Regions from separate parts of the Homo sapiens genome. Here all the other regions are linked to region 4. Evidence: promoter capture Hi-C in 16 types of primary human blood cells and fetal thymus (Javierre and others, 2016). All regions are on one chromosome and are shown on one strand. Each heading gives the region's core, a stretch centred on a gene start or on the middle of the fragment in contact. The rest is flanking DNA. Distances are from core to core; before and after follow the strand shown. Region 1 overlaps NUP160 (nucleoporin 160). Region 2 overlaps SPI1 (Spi-1 proto-oncogene). Region 3 overlaps NUP160 (nucleoporin 160). Region 4 holds the start of C1QTNF4 (C1q and TNF related 4). Region 5 holds the start of SLC39A13 (solute carrier family 39 member 13). Region 6 overlaps FNBP4 (formin binding protein 4). Region 7 has its middle 12 kb from the start of RAPSN.

Region 1 (2,700 bases), core at 47-2,546, 190 kb before region 4:
AAGAATTTCTTGGCCAGGCACAGTGGCTCACATCTGTAATCCTACTAATACTTTGGGAGGCTGTGGCGGGTGGATCGCTTGGGACCAGCCTGGCCAACATGGTGAAACCCTGTCTCTACTAAAAATACAAAAATGAGGGTGTGGCACACAACAGTAATTTCAGCCTCTCAGGAGGCTTAGGCACAAGAATCTCTTGAACTTGGGAGGCAGAGGTTGCAGTGAGCTGAGATCGCGCCTCTGCACTCGAGCCTGGGCAACAAAGCAAGACTCTGTTTCAAAAAAAAAAAAAAAAAAAGTTTGTGAATTAGAAATAATTTTGAACTTTCAGAATTTTTCAGCCAGGTGCAGTGGCTTACGCCTGTAATGCCATCACGTTGGGAGGCCAAGGTGGGCAGATCACTTGAGGTCAGGAGTTCAAGACCTGCCCGGCCAACATGACGAAACCCCATCTCTACTAAAAATACAAAAGTTAGCCAGGAGAGGTGGCGTGTGCCTGTAATCCCAGCTACTTGGGTGGCTAAGGCAGGAGAATCGCTTGAGCCTGGGAGACGGAGGTTACAATGAGTTGAGATTGCGCCACTGCACTCCAGCCTGGGCAACAGAGCGAGACTCCATCTTAATTTAAAAAAAAAAAGAGGCCAGGTGCGGTGGCTCATACCTGTTATCCCAGGACTTTGGGAGACCTAGGCGGGCGGATCATGAGGTCAGGAGATCAAGACCATCCTGGCTAACACAGTGAAACCCCGTCTCTACTAAATATACAAAAAATTAGCCAGGCATGGTGGCATGGGCCTGTAGTCCCAGCTACTCAGGAGGCTGAGACAGGAGAATCACTTGAACCTGGGAGGCAGAGGTTGCAGTGAGCTGAGATTGCACCACTGCACTGCAGCCTGGGTGACAGAGCAAGACTCCATCTCAAAAAAAAAGAAAAGAAAAAAGAATTTTTCATCATTAATTTTATCTTGGAAGTAAATTGTCTCTTAATGCTTACTCATGTTCTTGTAGGTATCCAGTTGTGTAACTTGAGGAAGAGATGAGCCAATATTCCAGTAGTGAATTCAGCAAAAGACTAGAGATGAAGTTGTCATCTATCTCTCTAGTTTTAGTATCAAATTAAAGTGGTACGTTTCAGCGTTCAGTTTTCAAGTGTGGAACCATTTTCATTCCAGATGCATCAAATTGCAATTTGGAGGAGAGGCAGCACAAGCAGAAGCCTGGGCCTGGCTAGCAGCCAATCAGCTCTCATCTGTCATCACTACTAAGGAGTCTAGGTACAACCCTGGTGTTCAACCCTGGGTAGTTTTGCCTTTCTAAAAGCTGTAACTGTCTTTCTCTGACTAAATTGTCCTACATAGATCATTTCACTTTTTTCTTTCTTTTTGGCTAAGTTTTTATAGGGGCTGGAAAGTTTATAATTAAGGTGACATCATGTCATTTATTGTCCAAACTAGGATGTCTTTGCCTATGAAATGTCTCCTTCTCCATATCCCCCTCCTCAAAGACTTACTGTTTCATATCAGGAAAGGGTACTCTTACAGGCAAAAATCTGTATTTACTTGTTTCGGAGTGTTATCCTCCTTTTTTCCCCCATTTCTTCCACTGAGCAGTCACTGCATGGTTTCATCACAGTGTCCTCTTATATCTTGTCTCCAGCTGCTGTTCAGCAGTCTGTCACCCATCAGCCCCCATCATCCACTATACCTTCTTCAGATCTCCTCTGGTTCGTATACTTCCCCAGTGCACCCACTTTGTGTCCACGTAAATATACTTCAGCTTCTTCAGAAACCTTCTCTAACATTCCTAACCCTCAGTAAACTTCCCTTTCTGAACTGCATTTGCACTTGGTATTATACAGCTTAGCACTTTAGAGTGATAGCACTTTAGAATTTGGAAGTTCTCTGACATTAGTTTTCAACCCCTAAATTAGCACATCAGAATAACTTATTAAAATACAGATTATGAGAAATCACCCTAGTCTTCTAAGTTAGAACTTCTGCATGATTCTAATGCTTGATCAGGTTTGAGAACCAGTGTTCTGAACCAGTTTCTTGTTTTAGAAATGCAGAAACAAAGGAGTTAAATGAATTATGCATTAATAGCCAAACAAATAACGTTCATTTACTAAATATGTTTGTTTACTAAATACTAAATACGTTAGTGGGAGAGGAATATACGAACCCAAGACATCTAGTTTCTAGTGCTATCCCCATAAGTCACATTAGCCCAAATAATATTTGTTCCCATTTAGCTATATTATTGATTCAGTTGTTAATTTCTAAAGTTTTCCTTGTAAGGCTGGGCATGGTGACTCCTGCCTGTAATCCCAACACTTAGGGAGGACAAGGTCAGAGGATCACTTTAGCTCTGGAGTTTAATACCAGCGTGGACAACATAGCAAGTCCTTGTCTCTACAAAACATAAACAAAATTAGCTGGGCATAGTGGTGCATGCCTGTATTCCCAGCTATTTAGGAAGCTGAAATGGGAGAATCTGGGGCTGAGGCTGCAGTGAGCTGAGATCACACCACTCCACTCTAGCCTGGGTGACAGAGCAAGACCCTGTCTGAAAAAAAAGTTTTCCTTGTAAATACATGCTTTGAATGGTACTCTAAATAGCTATTAAGAATCTGAAACTCATTAGTCATTTTTGTTTTTTTCAAGTGCTACAGATGAAGCATGGCGACTATTATCCACTTACCTG
Region 2 (2,700 bases), core at 188-2,687, 220 kb after region 4:
ACATGCCAGGGCCATGGCCAATCATGACAACCAAAAATGTCTCCACCCATTGGCAGATCCCCCCGGGAGGCAAAATCACCCCTAATTGGGAACTGCTGGGCCGAAGGAAAACCTATGAGAACCTCTTGTTCAGCAGAGGCCGAGGCCCCCAGTTTGCTGAAGTGGGAGGAAGAGGCCTGGGCCAGGGTGTCCTTCTGTCTGTCCAGTCCTTCTGGGTCTGACTGTCTGCCCCATAGCCCAGCCTCCGTCCTGGAGCAAATTCAGGGGATGGGAGAGAGGCATTAGGTGCCTGGGACCTGAGCAGGGGGCTGCGGGAGGTTGCCCAAAGTGGATCTTGGCTTATTGATGTAGACATCCCTGACCCAAAGCGAGGTGGCCTAGTCAGTGGGTGAGTCGTCACTGGGGAATTCCTCAGGGCGTCTGGGACCCGGGCAGACCAGCGACTGGGGTGTCTGCACCTCAGAGGGCAGAGGCCCACAGCCTAGGAAGGTGTCACTCCTGAAGGCCACCCCTGCGGCCAGTCATGCCTGTAGCTCCATTCTGCAGATGCACCTGTGGCGGTCTAAACCTGATGGGCCCAGCTAGGGATCCACATGTGCCTGGTCCACATTTAGGGCCCCAGATTCATCCGGAACTCAGACTGGAAGCCATATCCCAGGGGTAGGCGGATATGCCTCCAGGCCACAGCTGGGAACGCACAGGCATCTTTTAGAATCTTTCAGGGCTAGAAAGCCTTTAAAATATCCTTTTTAATTCCTTCAAGCTTATTTGTAATTATGTAAAAAACACATCCTCTTGGTGGGAAACCCAGGCAATGTAGAGAGAAAGTCCCCCTCCCCCAACTCCATCCCCAGCTCTCCCTACCAGAGTGAAGAGCCCGGTCTGGGGGACCCAGAGACCACGCACCCACCTTCCCAAGCGGTTCCAGGACTCCAGGAGGTCCCGCTGGGCCCTGGGACAGGCGCCCCCTGGTGGCTCGGGTCACCACAGACAGTGCTGTCAGGCCTCCTCCAACAAGGACGCATTCTCCCTGGCCCAATCCCTCTTCAGTTCACTGGGCTTGGGTGCGTTTCCTTTGGGCCTTTTGCAGCCTCAGTTTTCCTTCCTGTAATATGAGGGCGCTGCCCACATAGCTGGAAACCAGTGAGCCTGGGGCTGGGCCTGATGGAGTGAGCACTTTAGAGAAAGCATGTGTTTTCGTGGCTCAGGGTCCAAGCAGGTTCCTTATATCTCAGGTGGGACTCTAGGAATGACTCCTGATTGGATGCCTGGGCACCCCATGTTGGTCATGAACCCCTAGTTCCTCCAGAGACTCCACCAGTGTTCCCAGGTGTCCTCGGCCTTGGCTCTGTCCCACTCTTAATCACTGCCAATCAGGGCATTTGGGCTGTCCTTTTCTTTTTTTTTTTTTTTTAGGACAGTCTTGCTCTGTTGCCCAGGCTAGAGCGCAGTGGCCCAATCTTGGCTCACTGCAACCTCCGCCTCCTGGGTCCAAGCGATTCTCTTGCCTCAACATCCCAAGTAGCTAGGATTACAATCGTGCACTACCATGCCTGGCTAATTTTTGTATTTTTAGTAGAGATGAGGTTTTACCATGTTGGCCAGGCTGCTCTCAAACTCCTGACCTCAAGTGATCCACTTGCCTCGGCCTCCCAAAGTGCTGGGATTACAGGTGTGAACCACCGCGCCCAGTCTGTCCCTTTTTTTTGATACGGAGTCTCGTACTGTCGCCCGGGCTGGTGTGCAGTGGCACAATCTTGGCTCACTGCAACCTCCGCCTCCCGGATTCAAGCGATTCTCCTGCCTCAGCCTCCCAAGTAGCTAGGATTACAGGCGCCTGCCACCACGCTCAGCTAATTTTTTGTATTTTTAGTAGAGACAGGGTTTCACTATGTTGGCCAGGCTGGTCTCGAACTCCTGACCTGGTGATCCGCCTGCCTCAGCCTCCCAAAGTGCTGGGATTACAGGCGTGAGCCACTGCGCCCGGCCGGGCTGTCCCTTTTTATACCCGCTGGAAGGTATCGTCTGAAGACTCAACCATAGAGACCCCCACACACTTCTGTCAATTCCTGCACGTCCTCTTTGTCCACATTTTTAGGTACTGAAGCTTAGTGAAAAAGCTTTGGCCCAGCCCTGGCTCCATCACTTACCAGCTGTGAAAACTTGGGGCAAGTAACATAACCTTTCTGAGTCCCTATTTCCCCATTTATAAAACTGACAGCATGAAAATACTTACCTCCTAGGGCTGTGATGATTCAGCGAGGTAAGGCATATAATCTCTGAGGTAAGGTAACGTGCAGAGGACGAGGCCCGTGCTAGCTTCACTGCATTCCTCAAGGCAGGAGGGACAAAGCGGCTGGGGAGTGGGAAAAGCACAGAGGGCTCTGTGAGAGACCAACTGGGTTATTTTCCACTGACCCAGGGGACAGTCAATCTGCCACCCACCCCCACATCCATGCACTCACCCTCCCATCCACCCACCTACTCGTCCATCCTGCCAGCCGCTTCCCATCTGATCCACTTTTCCTCCCTATTCCATCCATTAAATAGTTTCTGAGTATCAGACACTCTTGTAGGCTCTGGGGAGTCCATGATGAGCACCAGACAAGGCCACTGCTCTCACAGAGCTCACTCTCCAGCGAGGGGATGGGGACATAAGGAATTAAATAGGCTGGGGCGTGGTGGCTCATGCCTGTAATT
Region 3 (2,700 bases), core at 162-2,661, 240 kb before region 4:
ACTGCTGGAACTGGACACAAATTACGGCTTGCTTATTCCCCCACCATGGGACTCTACCTGGGGATATACATGCATGCACCAAAACGAGGACAGGTATGAAACAAATAAGACACATACCAAGTTATTCTGTGTGTACTGATGTGGAGAAATGGCTGTAGACTCAGTGAGTCTGTTCAAGCTCTTTTCACCGACCTAGATGTGTTTCTGAGGTGATGGTTGGGTTTCGTGCTACTATGTGAATTAGAAGATCTTGAAGGAGGGGTCAGTATGAAAGGAAGTAGAGAGTTTAAAGTAACATGAAAGGAAAAGTTAACAGAAACTAAACAAGAAGAGCAAATTAGGAGTTCTAGGTGAAAAAACAGAATTCCTGAAAGGGATGTAGGTGTTATGTGGTGTTAAGTTAATTTTTCTAAATAAATTTGCTTAGCATCCAGACAGTAGCTGCTGTCTGTAGATGAGATACGTAGGATGTGATGTAATAGTGTAATCATTTAATAAACAGCCATTTGTTGAGCATTGTGTGTTTGGTGCTGTGCCAGTCCCTTTATGCACATTAATAATAGCAGACACTGGGATTGTGCTTACTCTGGGCTCATATGCTATATGCGTTTTATCCATTTAATCCTAATAACAGCCCAGTGAGGTAGGGTCTGTCTCCCTTACTATGCAGGAGCTCTGATTCCCCCACTGAGTCCCCACGCTAGGCCACTGCCCTTCCTGGATGCCCTTCTCACTTCTGTTGGGATCTCATAGCCCACTCCACATTGCTCCTCCAATGTGGGTGCCCTCCTTACCCTGTTTGGGCCCTGAGACCACCAGACTGCCCCCATGCAATGGACCTCCTCCTCACCCAACCTGAGTTTCCATCCTGCACCAAGCTTTCTGTCCATGTGGAAGCCATCTCAAACTGTTCGTGCTCCTCCCCCCGAAGTCAGGCAGTCCCAAATGTGGACAGTCTTCTTATGTCCCTAGGCTCTTGCCTCATCACACCTGGCCATATCACCCCTGCATGCACGCCCTTCTCACTCACTAGTGTTCTCACTCCTGTGCTGGGACATGCCTGCACCGATGTTCTCTTCAACCTGTTCAGACTGACTCCTTATGCCGAACCCCAACCCCCCAGGTCCCCGACCCTTACCTTCTGGCCAGCAAGGATATCTACCTTGCTCTAGGTTTTTAGATTGGATTGCTCAGGAACAGAATGGAAGGGAAGAGGAAGAGCTCATTCTTGCAGTTTTTTCCTAATATGGCCCAAAAGTATCATGCTATCAAGACATTTATCTTGATTGCACATAATTGTTCTATTCTCTCTTCTGGAGGACAACCCTTGAACTATTTGAACATACCTATCCATCTCCTCTAAGTATACTCTTCTCTGCATGTAGGTTGTGGGTGGTAGGAGAATTGACCCTGCTCTAACTTCCTTAGTTCCTTCCATTGTTATTCATGTAACATCCTGTTGATCAGTCTCCTCGACATGTTACAATTAGTTTGTCACACTAAAATAGTGGTTCTCAAACTTTTGGTCTCGGGACCCTATTATACTCTTACCGAGAACTGCAAAGAGCTTTTGTTTATATGGGTTATACCTATAATTTATTAGAAATTAAAACTGGCTGGATGTGGATTGACACATTTTATATTATGCAGTATCTAAATTACTGTTTTGGGGGGTAATCCCCAAGACCACCTCACCTCCATGTCCAGTAATACTCTGAAAGGACTCATAGGGCTCAGTATGTAGTTGTGCTGACAGCTAAAATGTATTACAGTGAAAAGATACAAAGCAAAGTGAAAAAAGGGAAAAGGCACATGGAGTGAAGTCTGAAGCCAGACACAATCGTCTAAGAGTCCCCTCCCAGTAGAGTCTCACAGGACATGCTTAATTCTTCCAGCACTGAATTGTGATGATGTGTGTAAAATGTTGTTTCCCAGGAAAGCTTGCTAGAGGCACAGTGCCCACCATATTGGCCAGGCTGGTCTCGAACTCCTGACCTTGTGATCTGCCCACTTCGGCCTCCCAGAGTACAAGCAAGACTTTCTAAGGAGAGCAGCCTCAGGCCTGCTATGTTAACCCTTTCTGCACAACTATTATCATTGATGATATTATCATTGGTGATCACTCAGAAGAGCCTTGAGAAGCTCTGGAGTTCATGTTAGTGGATACGAAGTTTTCTGAAATCATAGTTTTCACTTTAAAACTTGAAATGTATCATTGGCAACAAATACTGTCATTTGTTTTCCCTGAAATGACAGGTTCACTTTATTCTTTTTTTTTTTTCTTTTGTGATGGAGTTTGGCACTCTTGTCACCCAGGCTGGAGTGCAGTAGCGTGACCTCAACTGACTGCAACCTCTGCCTCCTGGGTTCAAGCAATTCTCCTTCATCAGCCTCCACAGTGGCTGGGATTACAGGTACCTGCCACCATACCCGGCTAATTTTTTGTATTTTTAATAGAGATGGGGTTTCACCATGTGGGCCAGTCTGGTCTCGAACTCCTGACCTCAGGTGATCCACCCGCCTCAGCCTCCCAAAGTGCTGGGATTACAGGTGTGAGCCACCACGCCCAGCCTATTCATTTATTTAAACAGCTTTCTTGAGATGTAATTCACTCACCCATTTAAAGTATACCATTCAATGAGTTTTAGTATATCCACAGATACGAGCAACCATTACCATAGTCAACTTTAGAACATTTCC
Region 4 (2,700 bases), core at 32-2,531:
ACAAGGGCTAGACAGGTGCTTCACCCTCTGTCACCAAATACCCTCATTATCCAGCCCAAAACACCTCCATTCATTCCTTTCTATTCTGGCACATATTCGTTAATTCATTCCATCATTCACCTAACACCCTTGAAGCAGAGCCAATCACCTCTACCAACATCTTCCTAGAGACAAATAGATTAACTGGGGTGGGGTAAACTTTGAGAGCTCCAAAAGGAAAGCTCCAGAGGACGGGGGTTCTGCAGGGGTCCAGGCCTCTCAGGGACCACAGAGCAGACCTGCAGCAGAGGCAGAATTAGAGCCCATGGCTCTGGAGTCAACCAGGGCCAGGCAGAGGGCACCAGCTCTTGGCTGCTGAAAGTAGAGCTCTTCAAAAGTCATCCACTCAGTCAGCATCTACTGAGTGCCAGGCAGTGTCGTCACCTCTACAGCCGTCAGGGGAGAGAACAGCAGCCTAGAGAAAGGGAGTCTGAGCCCCCATCCCACGGGCTCGAAGCCCAGAGTAGAGGCCAGCACTAGTGCCTCTGGTGAGTATTACCATGGGAAGACCGCTGTTCCCAGCCCGGGTGCCCTGCTGGACTCTTGCTAGCCTGGCCCCAGCGAGGCAGGGCATCAGTTTCCCTCTCCAGAGGCCTTTCTTCCCCACCTATTGCCCTCTCAATCCTGTCCCTTCTTGCAGGAGCAACCTTCCCAGCAGAAAATTCCATTCTGCCCCAAGGACTCTCCTCCTTACTGCCCCTCACCCCGGGGAACGCAGGCTGCCCCTCTGATGCCTGCAGACTCCCTTCTCCCTCTTTCCTAACCGACCGTGGGCATTTTCCAATTTGGAGGTGAGGAGGAAAAACTAGGTTATTTTCAGCTCTTCCTTTACTGGCAACATTGACCCATTTATCCTTCTCTTCCTTCAGACCTCTCCCCCAAGGCCACTTAGCTTGGACATCTGTCCCAGCCAAAATCTCACCTTCCACTGTCCTTGCAGCCCAAAGGCTAGTCCAGCCTCTGAGTCCAGCTCTAGCCCTCTCTCCCCACACTAGGAAGGAAGCTGGACTGTAGAGCGCTCTGGGCCACCCCGCGTTAGCTGCTGCCTCTGGCCTCAGTTTCCCCAACTGCTCAGATTAATGATGCCTGCTCTCTAGACCCAGAGGACGAAGCTCTAAGGAGGTCACAGATGAGGAAGGGTCCAGTGCTCGGCGCAGACTCCGTGCGGAGCCCCTAGGCCCCGCAGCTCGCCCCTCCCTCTCCCCTACTCCCCTCCTCTCCCCCTCCCGTCTCTCCCCCGCCTCTTCGCTCTCGCTCGGCTCCCTCTCTAGCTGACCTTCCCTTTCCCTCACGCCTCCCCACGCCCGGCCCCTGGCCCCAGCACCCTGTCCGCTGCCGCCTCAGAGCCGGGAAAAGCAGCCGGAGCCCCCGCCGCCCCTGCCGCAGCGCGGGCGGTCAGCGCGCAGCCCGGCACCCGCAGCCTGCAGCCTGCAGCCCGCAGCCCGCAGCCCGGAGCCAGATCGCGGGCTCAGACCGAACCCGACTCGACCGCCGCCCCCAGCCAGGTGAGGGCAGCTGAGGGGAGGCAGGGAGCCGAGGTTCCCCCTTTACTGGAAGCGAGGGCTGGGGAGGCGCGGGGAAATTGGGTCCTTTTTCCTTGAAAGGAGGACCTGGGAGCCTTTTCGTGAAACAGGCACAAGGGCTTTCATTCCAAAGGGATGGATGGATGGAGGGAAGGTCTCGGGGGAGAGGGATTGGTTTTTGTTTTTTAAAAATAAGGATTAATTGGCTTCTGTGAAAGTGGGACTTCTTGGAAGGATGAGGGGCTTTCAAGGTAGGTTGGGGAGGGGGCTCTGGCAGGGCTTGAGGGAAGGGTTAACTGGTGAGTGGCAGGGCAAGGGGGAACTCTGCGATCCCCTCAGCCTGACATCGCTGCACCTCCCGCCTTGGCTCCGGGGCTCTGGGTCTCTCCAGCTCTGTGTCCCAGTTTTTCTCTTTGAAGATGACTATTTTGAACCCCACCTGGACAGAGCCAGGAACAGCCATTTCCTTCCCTGGAGCTATGACACCCACCTGACACACCCTCCCACACCTCTGACCTGCTCAGGGAAGGGGGTTCAGGGAAGGACGAGGATCCAGGGATCTGGGAATTGGGCAGTGTGGGTGAAACGGAGGCTGGGTACTGGGTGCACAGGAAGACCCTTGGCACTGGTGGGGTGCACCAGCCTTGGTCAGGAGGTTGCTGGGCAGCTGCTTCTGGGGCAGGACCCACTAGGAAAGCAGCGGTATGGAAAAGCTGAGCTGTTTTCCGTGTTCCCAGAAGACAAAACACTAGAGAATGTGTTTGCTTGCTTTTGTTTGGTTTTGCTTTCTGTCTTCCTCACCCTGGATCCCAAGACTCATTCCTCTGATCTCCTCTCCTAGTTTTGCAAAAAGGTAAACTGAGGCACAGAACAAATTGGCTGGACATACCTGTGTCTAGGAGGGAAGAGTGACAGGAAGGCATACGGAATTTGAGTCAAAAAACCTCAGTGCTCCATGGGTGACCTTGGGCCAAAATGCTTTCCCTTGTTGGGCCTCAGCTTTCTCATCTATAAAATGGGAGACGGCCCACCTGTCTTGTAGGTTTGCCAAGACCATGTGTCTAAAAGAACTTTGTAAAAGGGAATGCACTGGACACTTGTGAGGTGCCATCTTCACCACTGTGGATGGCCCCTTCCC
Region 5 (2,700 bases), core at 169-2,668, 190 kb after region 4:
CCCCGCAAGGGACCCTGGCATCCACCCTCCTGCTGTCCTTGCCAGAGCGTCTGAGCATCCAAATGCTGGGTGCACAGCAATGGGGCCCTGTGTCTCCACACCCTACTCCTGAGCACTGCGTATTTTTTCCTTCTGAGCAGCTCCAGACTGTGTCAGCACCTCCGCCTGAGGCTAAACTTTCCCTAATGACAGGGTGAGGCGCTGGCTGGCTCTCCTCAGCCACCGGCGGCACGGCCCGGCCCAGCTGGGTGTCTCTGGCTGCCAGGGGAGGCCCTGCCGCCCGCGACACCCCAGAGACTGAGGCACCCCTTCTAAGGGGATGGGGTGGATTCAGAGAGACATACGTGGGGAAACTGAGCAGATGAGCCAGGGCAAGACCATCCACGCTTCTTCCTAGGACATGAGACCAATGTCCCCAGGGCACTGAGGGCAACAGGAGATGGGGCTGATGAGGAAGGAGCCTTTAGCCAGGGGATGCCTCTCTCTTGTATAGCGCAGGCTTTAGAGCCCCCACGGTGAATTCTATGCTGCACTTTGAGCTGTCTAACTCTGGGCAAATCTCTGAAGCCCCCCCTCTGAGCCTCAGTGCCCTCATCTGCAGGACAGGGATCAATATCACCTGCCTCAGCTGTGAGGACGAGATAAGCCTGAAAGTGCAGGTGGATGTACCCGGCATGAGGAGGCGCAGAGGCCCTGCCTGTGCCAGGGAAGGCCTGGGGCTCCCTGCAGCAGGAATGTGCCCAGCCGGCCGATCACAGGATGTGGACGTGAGTCAACCAAGCGAGAAGTTCCATCTGGAAACTCGGGCATGAGGTTTAAATGTGGTCTGCTCTGCCTCAGGCTGGCTGTGACCTTGAGCTGGTGATGTCCCTGCCTCAGTTTCCTCACCTTCTGATGGAGATGGGAGGGGAAGAAAGCAGCTGCCTCTGGGTGGTGGCAGAGATGCCCATGTCTAGGACCTCCAGGCCTTAACTAATCAGGGGCACTGATGAAGCCAGCGGGGCTCCACTGGGGACCACAGGCAAGACTGGGCCAGGACGAGGCGGTCACGCAGAGGTGAGGGGACCACAGGCTAGCGGGAGGGAATACACGGAGAGTCCAAGGGGAGAGGAAAGTAGAGAGTGAGAGAGCTAGAGAGAGGCGGGTGGGACGCGGAGAGGACAGCGAGGGAGGGATGGGGCGTGGGGCGCGGAGCGATGGGGGAGAGGAGGCCGAAGCGGGCGAGCCTGACTCCCGGGTCCTGGGAGCCGGCCCAGGTCTGATGAGGACCAGTCGGACGGGGCGAGGGATCGGCCGGGTCCATCACGCCCGGGGCGCGGGCCCCGAGGGTCCTGCTGGCACTCACCGTGCGGCGGCGGCGGCGGCGATCCGGGCGGCCCCAGCCATCCAGCTGCGGTGCCGCGCCCCGCCCAGGCTCTGCCCCGCCCGGCCGCCCGGCCGCCCGGCCCCCGGCCCGGGGCCGCCCCCGGCGCGCGGCCACGTCACAAGGGGCCTGTCCGGAACCCGAGGCGCCGCGTGCCGCGGGGTCGGGGGGAGTGGCGGCGGGAGGGCGCTTCCGCCTCGCGGCGGTGGGGGACCCGGGTAGAGGGCGCACTTCCGTTTGGGCAGGGCTGCGGGCCGGAGGGGAGGGTCGGTCGGAAGTGAGAGAGCCACACGCACCGCGCTCAGCCAGGCTGGGCAGGGACGGAAGCGGCGGCTCTGCGGGGACCGCGATCGACCAGGCTGCGGGGCTTGCGGATCTGGCCGCCGCTTCCCGTCCAGGGCCGCAGTCTGCCCGTGGCCGCACGGGGGCGCGCCCGGCCGCCAGACCACGCCGCCCAGGTCGGGCTGGGAGGACTACTGTGCGCTCCTGCTCTGAGTCAGCCCGGCCTGGCTCCTCCATGAGCAAGGGAAAGGGGAAGTGCCTGCCGCAGGGAGGGGCCTGGCCCCGGGAACCTCAGAAGAGGGAATTTTATTCTTACTCATCGAATTATTTTTATGCTTTGGTTTTTCACTGGGAACCTCAGGCCACTGTCTCCAGGGCTTGTAACCCTTTGGGGTCCAATGCATGGTGGCTGGACCCTGCTGATGGGAACTCCAAACCTGGGAGGCGAGGGCTCTGTGCTTCCCTCACCTGGAGGAAGCTAGACCTGACCTCTTTGGTTAGACTAAGGCAGCAAACACTGGATAGCAGTTCTTATAACCGCAATTTACTGACCACCTACTATGTGCTATTCACTTTACTCGCACTATCTCACTGAATCCTCATATTATCCCATTGTGGTGGGTACTGTTAGCCCAGGGTCACACAGTGGCACAGATGGCAGAGCCAGGATTCAAACCTGGGTGTCCTGAAGCCAGAGTATGTGATACCACTTCTCACGTCTAGGTCCTGAACAGCAGTGGGAGTCTGGCTTGGCGTTTCGAGTTTGTATTCTTCTCTGGAAATCAGCCAGTACAGGAGAAGATTCAGGAAGGGGCATGTGGGTACTCACTTGGGCAGAGATAGCGACTGAGTACAGGTCTCTTAAGTCTCTGACCCTCATCAGCCTCCCATGGCAGCTCCAACCATTTACTCTGTCACTTTCCCCTCTGCTGGGGCTCTTGAGAGCACACTCAGCTCTCAGGGCTGCCTCTGGTGCCTGTCCCACTTCATGTTGCACTGTTGGCCTTCCTTAGACCGCCAACTTCTCCCTGGTGGCCCAGCTTGTCTTCTGAAGC
Region 6 (2,700 bases), core at 109-2,608, 160 kb before region 4:
AAATTTAATATAAGTAATAGCTGGAAAAGTCTAGCTAGAATTTAACATTTTATGTGTTTATAATACATATAATAATACTCTATGTATTATATTGTTAATTGTAATCTTGGAGTAGCCACAGATGATCCAAAAGGAAATGGCATAGCAGCATTACAGAGGCCATACCTGATACCACTTAAATTTGAGGAAGACATTGATCATTGGTTTTAGCCATGTTGAGCCCCATTTTTAATTCCTGTCACTTCATGTTTTTAATTTCTGTCACTTCCTATTTGAGGAATAATCATTGATTAAAAGCTTCGTTTTTAACTTTGAAAGTCTTTATTTCTTTAGTTTTTGAAAGTCTTTGTTTCAGCTGCTACACTGTAATTGGCTCAGTTTGAAGTAAACACTTTAATCACCAAATTCTAAAATCAAGATATACTATCTATGAACAATTTGGAAAGAGAGTGAGATTGAATAATTGATTGAAATAACTATGCAGATTAATTTTCTTGTTCTCGATTTTTTTTGTTTTTGTTTTTTTTTTGGAGACATGGTCAGTCTCACTTTGTCACCCTGGCTGGAGTACAGTGGAGATGTTTCGGCTTAATGCAGCCTCAACCTCCTGGGCTCAAGCTATCCTTGCACCTCAGCCGTATGCTCGGCTAAATTTTTATTCTTTTTCCTTTTCCCTTTTTTTTTTTTTTGTTTTTGTTTTTATGGGATAGACAAGGTCTCACTATGTTTTCGAGGCTGGTCTCAGATTCTGGGCTCAAATGATCTTCCTGCCTCAGATCCTCCCGAAGAAGTTGGGTCTGTAGACATAAGCTGTGTTGCCTGGCTCATAGATCAACATGTTTTTTTATTTTTTATTTTATTTATTTATTTATTTTGAGACGGATTTTCACTGTTGTTGCCCAGGCTGGAGTGCAGTGGCGTGATCTCAGCTCACCGCAACCTCCGCCTCCCGAGTTCAAGCAATTTTTCTGCTTCAGCCTCCTGAGTAGCTGGGATTACAGGCATGTGCCACCACACCTGGATAATTTTGTATTTTTAGTAGAGACAGGGTTTCTCCATGTTGGTCAGGCTGGTCTTGAACTCCTGACTTCAGGTGATCTGCCCGCCTCAGCCTCCCAAAGTGCTGGGATTACAGGTGTGAGCCACCATGCCCAGCCCAGATCAATTTTTTTTTTTTTTTTTTAACCCCCGGAGACAGAGTCTTACTCTTTTGCCCAGGGTGGAGTGCAGTGGCGTGATCTTGGCTCACTGCAACCTCTGCCTCCCAGGTTCAAGCACTTCTCCTGCCTCACTAGCTGGGACTACAGGCACGTGCTACCAGGCCTGGCTAATTTTTTGTATTTTTAATAGAGATGGGGTTTCACCATGTTGCCCAGGCTGGTCTCAAAACGCCTGACCTCATGATCCACCCACCTCGGCCTCCCAAAGTGCTGGGATTACAGGCGTTGAGCCACTGCACCAGGCCTATAGATCAATTTTTATTAGCTTTAACCATACGATGTAATTTATTCTTCTGTGGTAGTTCAGTGATTATTAGTTTTGCGGTTATGTTCTAATCTGTAAGTAAGTTTAAAAAAAACATGTTATACTTCCGCTTTAGATGCTTCTTAGGACATATTGACATTGTTGTTACAAATACTGTTTACCTTTTTGTTTCTAGGCGGTCTATGCTTGCTTGGTGCTTATGCTGACAGTGATGACGATGACAATGATGTTTCCGAAAAACTAGCACAATCCAAAGAGACAAATGGAAACCAGTCAACTGATATTGATAGTACATTGGCCAACTTCCTAGCGGTTAGTGGTGCTTTCGTTTGGAGTTTTAGTTACTGAAGCTACTTTGGGACCTGGATCTTAAGTGGTCAGCGTACTTGTCAGTTCAATGTCTTCCTCCTCCTTTCTCCCTCTCCCTCCAACACTCTCTTGTATTTCTCCCGATCTCTATCTCTCTTTTTGTTTTGTTTTGTTTAACTTTAAGAGATGGGGTCTCACTGTGTTGCTCAGGCTGGTCTTGAACTCTTGGGCTGAAGCGATCCTCCCACCTCGGCCTTCCAAAGTGCTGGGATTATAGGTGTGAGCCATCACACCTGGCTGTCTCTCCTTTTTTTTTTTTTTCTTGAGATAGAATCTCACTCTGTTGCCCAGTCTCGAGTGCAGCGGTACGATCTCGCCTCACCGCAACCTGTCTCCTGGGTTCAAGTAGCTGAGGCTACAGGTATGTGCACCCGAGTAGCTGGGGCTACAGGTATGTGCCACCACACCCAGCTGATTTTTGTATTTTTGGTAGAGACGGGGTTTCACCATGTTGGCCAGGCTGGTCTCAAACTCCTGACCTCAGGTGATCAACCCACCTCGGCCTTCCAAAGTGTTGGGATTACAAGCGTGAGCCACCACCTCCCTTTTCTTTTTGTAAAGCTTTCAAAGAGAAGAAAGGCAAATTAGAAGAGACTGGGGAGCTTGTATAATTGGAAGATGAGGGTTTTGATTTGAGAAGCTTAGAATGAGTATCTAGAATTTTTTTTTTCTCCCTCGAGACTGGGTCTTACTGTCACCCAGGCTGAAATGTGGTGGCGTGATGTTGGCCCACTGCAACCTCTGCCACCCAGGTTCAAGTAATTCTCCCACCTCAGCCTCTTGAGTAGCTGGGATTACAGGCATGTGCCACCACGCCCGATAATAATTGTATTCTTTTTTTTTTGT
Region 7 (2,700 bases), core at 116-2,615, 130 kb after region 4:
CCTCCACCTCCCAGGCTCAAGCAACTCCCTTGCCTCAGCTTCAGGCATGTGCCACCACATTCGACTAATTTTTTGTATTTTTAGTAGAGACAGGGTTTCACCATGTTAGCCAGGCTGGTCTCAAACTCCTGGCCTCAAGTTGATCACCCACCTTGGCCTCCCAAAGTGCTGGGATTACAGACATGAGCCACCTCGCCCGGCCAATGTTTTGTATTCTTTGAAAACCTCTTCATCCTTCTGTAGCTTGCTCAACACCTACTTTTTGCCACATTCCTGTTCATCTGGCTGGCAGAGGCACCTCCGCACTGACTTTCTCGGTCAGCACACAGCTTCCCTAATGCTCACATACTATGCTCACCTGAGCAGCTCGGTCCCTGATGAGGAAAAAGCCACCAGGCTGGAAATTAAACACCAGGTTGTGCCTGCACCTCAGGGAATGTCAGACTAATGTTTGATAATATTTCCCTTCAGGAGAGATCGGAGCTGGACTTGCCTTGCACCTTGTGCCTTCAAGCATTTTCCTTCCTTCTCAGGAGTCCTTTCCAACCCCCACCATCTGGTGTTTAATTGCTTTTGCATGCATTGACTTTCTCTGTACTGGTTGAAGGCTCCAGCTATAGGGAAGGCTTTTGTTTTTTAAAAATTCAAGGCAGGTCGGGCGCGGTGGCTCACTCCTGTAATCCCAACACTTAGGGAGGGCAAGGCAGGCAGATCAGTTGAGTTCAGGAGTTGAAGACCAGCAGTGCTAGCATGGTGAAACCCTGTCTCTACCAAAAATACAAAAATTAGCTGGGCATAGTGGCGGGCACCTGTAATCCCAGCCACTCGGGAGGCTGCGGCAGGAGAATCTCGAACCCGGCGGGCGGAGGTTGCAGTGAGCCAAGATCATTCCGCTGCATTTCAGTCTGGGCGACAGAGTGAGACTCCCATCTCAAAAATAAATTGAAGGCAGCCTTGGGATGGGAAATTGAACTCACACAACCAGGAAGGGCTTTCCCGCAGTCCCCGACACTTTCCAGGCCCAGGTCTTGGCCTGCTCTACCCAAGGTTTTTCCATTAGTGGGGATGGGTCTTACTAATCTGAGTCCTCTTGAGATTTGGGTTGTATTTAAACGGCTTTATTGCATGACGTGGTGGCTCATGCCTGTAATTCCAGCACCTTGAAAGACCAAGGTCGGTGGACCACTTGAGGCCAGGAGTTCAAGACCAGCCTGGCCAATATAGCGAAACCCCTTCTCTACTAAAAATAAACCAGGCATGGTGGCGCATGGCTGTAATCCCAGCTACTCAGGAGGCTGAGGCACAAGAATTGCTTGAACCCAGGAGGCGGAGGTTGCAGTGAGCAGAGATTGTGCCACTGTCCCAGCCCAGGGAACAAAGTGAGACCGAGACCCTGTCTCAAGAAAAAAATAATAAACAGGTTTATTGAGATATAATTCACACACAACACAACTCATCCACTTAAAGCATACCATTCACTGAGTTTCAGAGTTGTGCAACCATGAATGCAGCCTAATTTTAGAACATTTTCAGAACCCTGTACTCATTTAGCAGTCACTCCCCATCCTCTCCCTCACTCCCTTTCCCATTTCCTAGTAACCACAAATATACCTCTGTCTGTATCTTTACTGGTTCTGGACATTTCATTAAAATACAGTCATGGGATATGTGGCCTTTTGTGTCTGGCCTTCACTTAGTCAACATCCTGAGGTATTTTCTCCTTTCTTCCTCCTACTTGAAAGCTAGTGGCAGCACCCACTGCCTTGTGGCACCTGCTCCTGCCATCCCTCATCCTTCTGAGCTTGTCTGCTCCCAATCCAGCCTTGTTTCTGCAGCTCTCCCAGCTCCTCTTTCTGGTTGCCGATATTATCTGCCTCAGCCTGAATCTGGAAGGCTTCTAGACTCACAGTTGTCCAATACAGTTACCCACTAGGCACTGTAGCTTTTTTTGTTTAAATAACTAAATATGGGCCCAGCCAGTGGCTCACCTTACCTCTCCATGCCTGTAATCCCAGCGCTTTGGGAGGACGAGGCAGGCGGATCACTTGAGGTTGGGAGTTTGAGACCAGCCTGACCGACATGGAGAAACCCCGTCTCTACTAAAGATACAAAATTAGCCCCGCGTGGTGGTGCATGCCTGTAATCTCAGCCACTCGGGAGGCTGAGGCAGGAGAATTGCTTGAACCCGGGAAGTGAAGGTTGTGGTAAGCTGAGATCATGCCATTGCACTCCAGCCTGGGCAACAAGAGCGAAACTCCCTCTTAAAATAACAAAAATGTAGTACCTCGGTTTCACTAGCCACATTTCAAGTGACTGGTGGCTATCCTATTGGACAGTGCCGATACAAAACATTTCCATCATCACAGGCAGTGGCAGGACTGTTCTAGACAGTTTGCTGTTTTTGTTTGTTTGCTTGTTTGTTTTTGAGATGGAGTCTCACTGTTGCCCAGGCTGGAGTGCAGTGGCAGGATCTCGGCTCACTGCAGCCTCTGCCCTCTGGGTTCAAGCAGTTCTCCCGCCTCAGCCTCCCGAGTAGCTGGGACTACAGGCACCTGGCATCACACCTGACTAATTTTTCTATTTTTAGTAGAGACGGGGTTTTACCATGTTGGCCAGGCTGGTCTCGAACTCCTGACCTCAGGTGATCCGCCCACCTCAGCCTCCCAAAGTGCTGGGATTACAGGCGTGAGCTACCACGCC

The links. The method cuts DNA at HindIII sites, captures the fragments that hold promoters and counts their contacts. A CHiCAGO score of 5 or more calls a contact.
Region 1: a contact is called between a fragment that was not itself captured here and the fragment with the promoter of C1QTNF4 in region 4, in 2 of 17 cell types (M1 macrophages and megakaryocytes). The highest score is 7.5, in M1 macrophages.
Region 2: a contact is called between a fragment that was not itself captured here and the fragment with the promoter of C1QTNF4 in region 4, in 1 of 17 cell types (endothelial precursors). The highest score is 6.7, in endothelial precursors.
Region 3: a contact is called between a fragment that was not itself captured here and the fragment with the promoter of C1QTNF4 in region 4, in 1 of 17 cell types (endothelial precursors). The highest score is 5.6, in endothelial precursors.
Region 5: a contact is called between the fragment with the promoter of SLC39A13 here and the fragment with the promoter of C1QTNF4 in region 4, in 5 of 17 cell types (M1 macrophages, endothelial precursors, erythroblasts and 2 more). The highest score is 8.6, in M1 macrophages.
Region 6: a contact is called between a fragment that was not itself captured here and the fragment with the promoter of C1QTNF4 in region 4, in 2 of 17 cell types (M1 macrophages and erythroblasts). The highest score is 6.6, in M1 macrophages.
Region 7: a contact is called between a fragment that was not itself captured here and the fragment with the promoter of C1QTNF4 in region 4, in 2 of 17 cell types (M2 macrophages and M1 macrophages). The highest score is 7.2, in M2 macrophages.

Annotation. Positions count from the first base shown.
Region 1 is chr11:47,785,024-47,787,723 of GRCh38, reverse strand. NUP160 (nucleoporin 160) reads left to right here. Exons shown (of 36, transcript NM_015231.3): 32 at 1,170-1,271; 33 at 2,661-2,700. Among named protein-coding and RNA genes, the nearest start is that of FNBP4, 19 kb to the right of the region's middle. The HindIII fragment of the contact is 3,579 bases long and covers 1-2,700 here.
Region 2 is chr11:47,372,360-47,375,059 of GRCh38, reverse strand. All of the region lies in intron 2 of SPI1 (Spi-1 proto-oncogene), which reads left to right. Among named protein-coding and RNA genes, the nearest start is that of SPI1, 4.8 kb to the left of the region's middle. RefSeq lists an enhancer at 393-894. The HindIII fragment of the contact is 1,344 bases long and covers 766-2,109 here.
Region 3 is chr11:47,833,044-47,835,743 of GRCh38, reverse strand. NUP160 (nucleoporin 160) reads left to right here. Exons shown (of 36, transcript NM_015231.3): 7 at 1-93. Among named protein-coding and RNA genes, the nearest start is that of NUP160, 14 kb to the left of the region's middle. The HindIII fragment of the contact is 1,062 bases long and covers 881-1,942 here.
Region 4 is chr11:47,592,992-47,595,691 of GRCh38, reverse strand. It overlaps C1QTNF4 (C1q and TNF related 4), which reads left to right and starts at 1,281. Exons shown (of 2, transcript NM_031909.3): 1 at 1,281-1,544. The HindIII fragment of the contact is 4,016 bases long and covers 1-2,700 here.
Region 5 is chr11:47,407,308-47,410,007 of GRCh38, reverse strand. It overlaps SLC39A13 (solute carrier family 39 member 13), which reads right to left and starts at 1,418. Exons shown (of 10, transcript NM_001128225.3): 1 at 1,346-1,418. It overlaps SLC39A13-AS1 (SLC39A13 antisense RNA 1), which reads left to right and starts at 726. Exons shown (of 4, transcript NR_182308.1): 1 at 726-1,056. RefSeq lists enhancers at 1-158, 159-1,025, 1,314-2,136 and a silencer at 1,116-1,905. The HindIII fragment of the contact is 27,134 bases long and covers 1-2,700 here.
Region 6 is chr11:47,753,625-47,756,324 of GRCh38, reverse strand. It overlaps FNBP4 (formin binding protein 4), which reads left to right. Exons shown (of 17, transcript NM_015308.5): 3 at 1,661-1,797. Among named protein-coding and RNA genes, the nearest start is that of FNBP4, 12 kb to the left of the region's middle. The HindIII fragment of the contact is 2,118 bases long and covers 300-2,417 here.
Region 7 is chr11:47,459,870-47,462,569 of GRCh38, reverse strand. No RefSeq gene overlaps it. Among named protein-coding and RNA genes, the nearest start is that of RAPSN, 12 kb to the right of the region's middle. The HindIII fragment of the contact is 8,567 bases long and covers 1-2,700 here.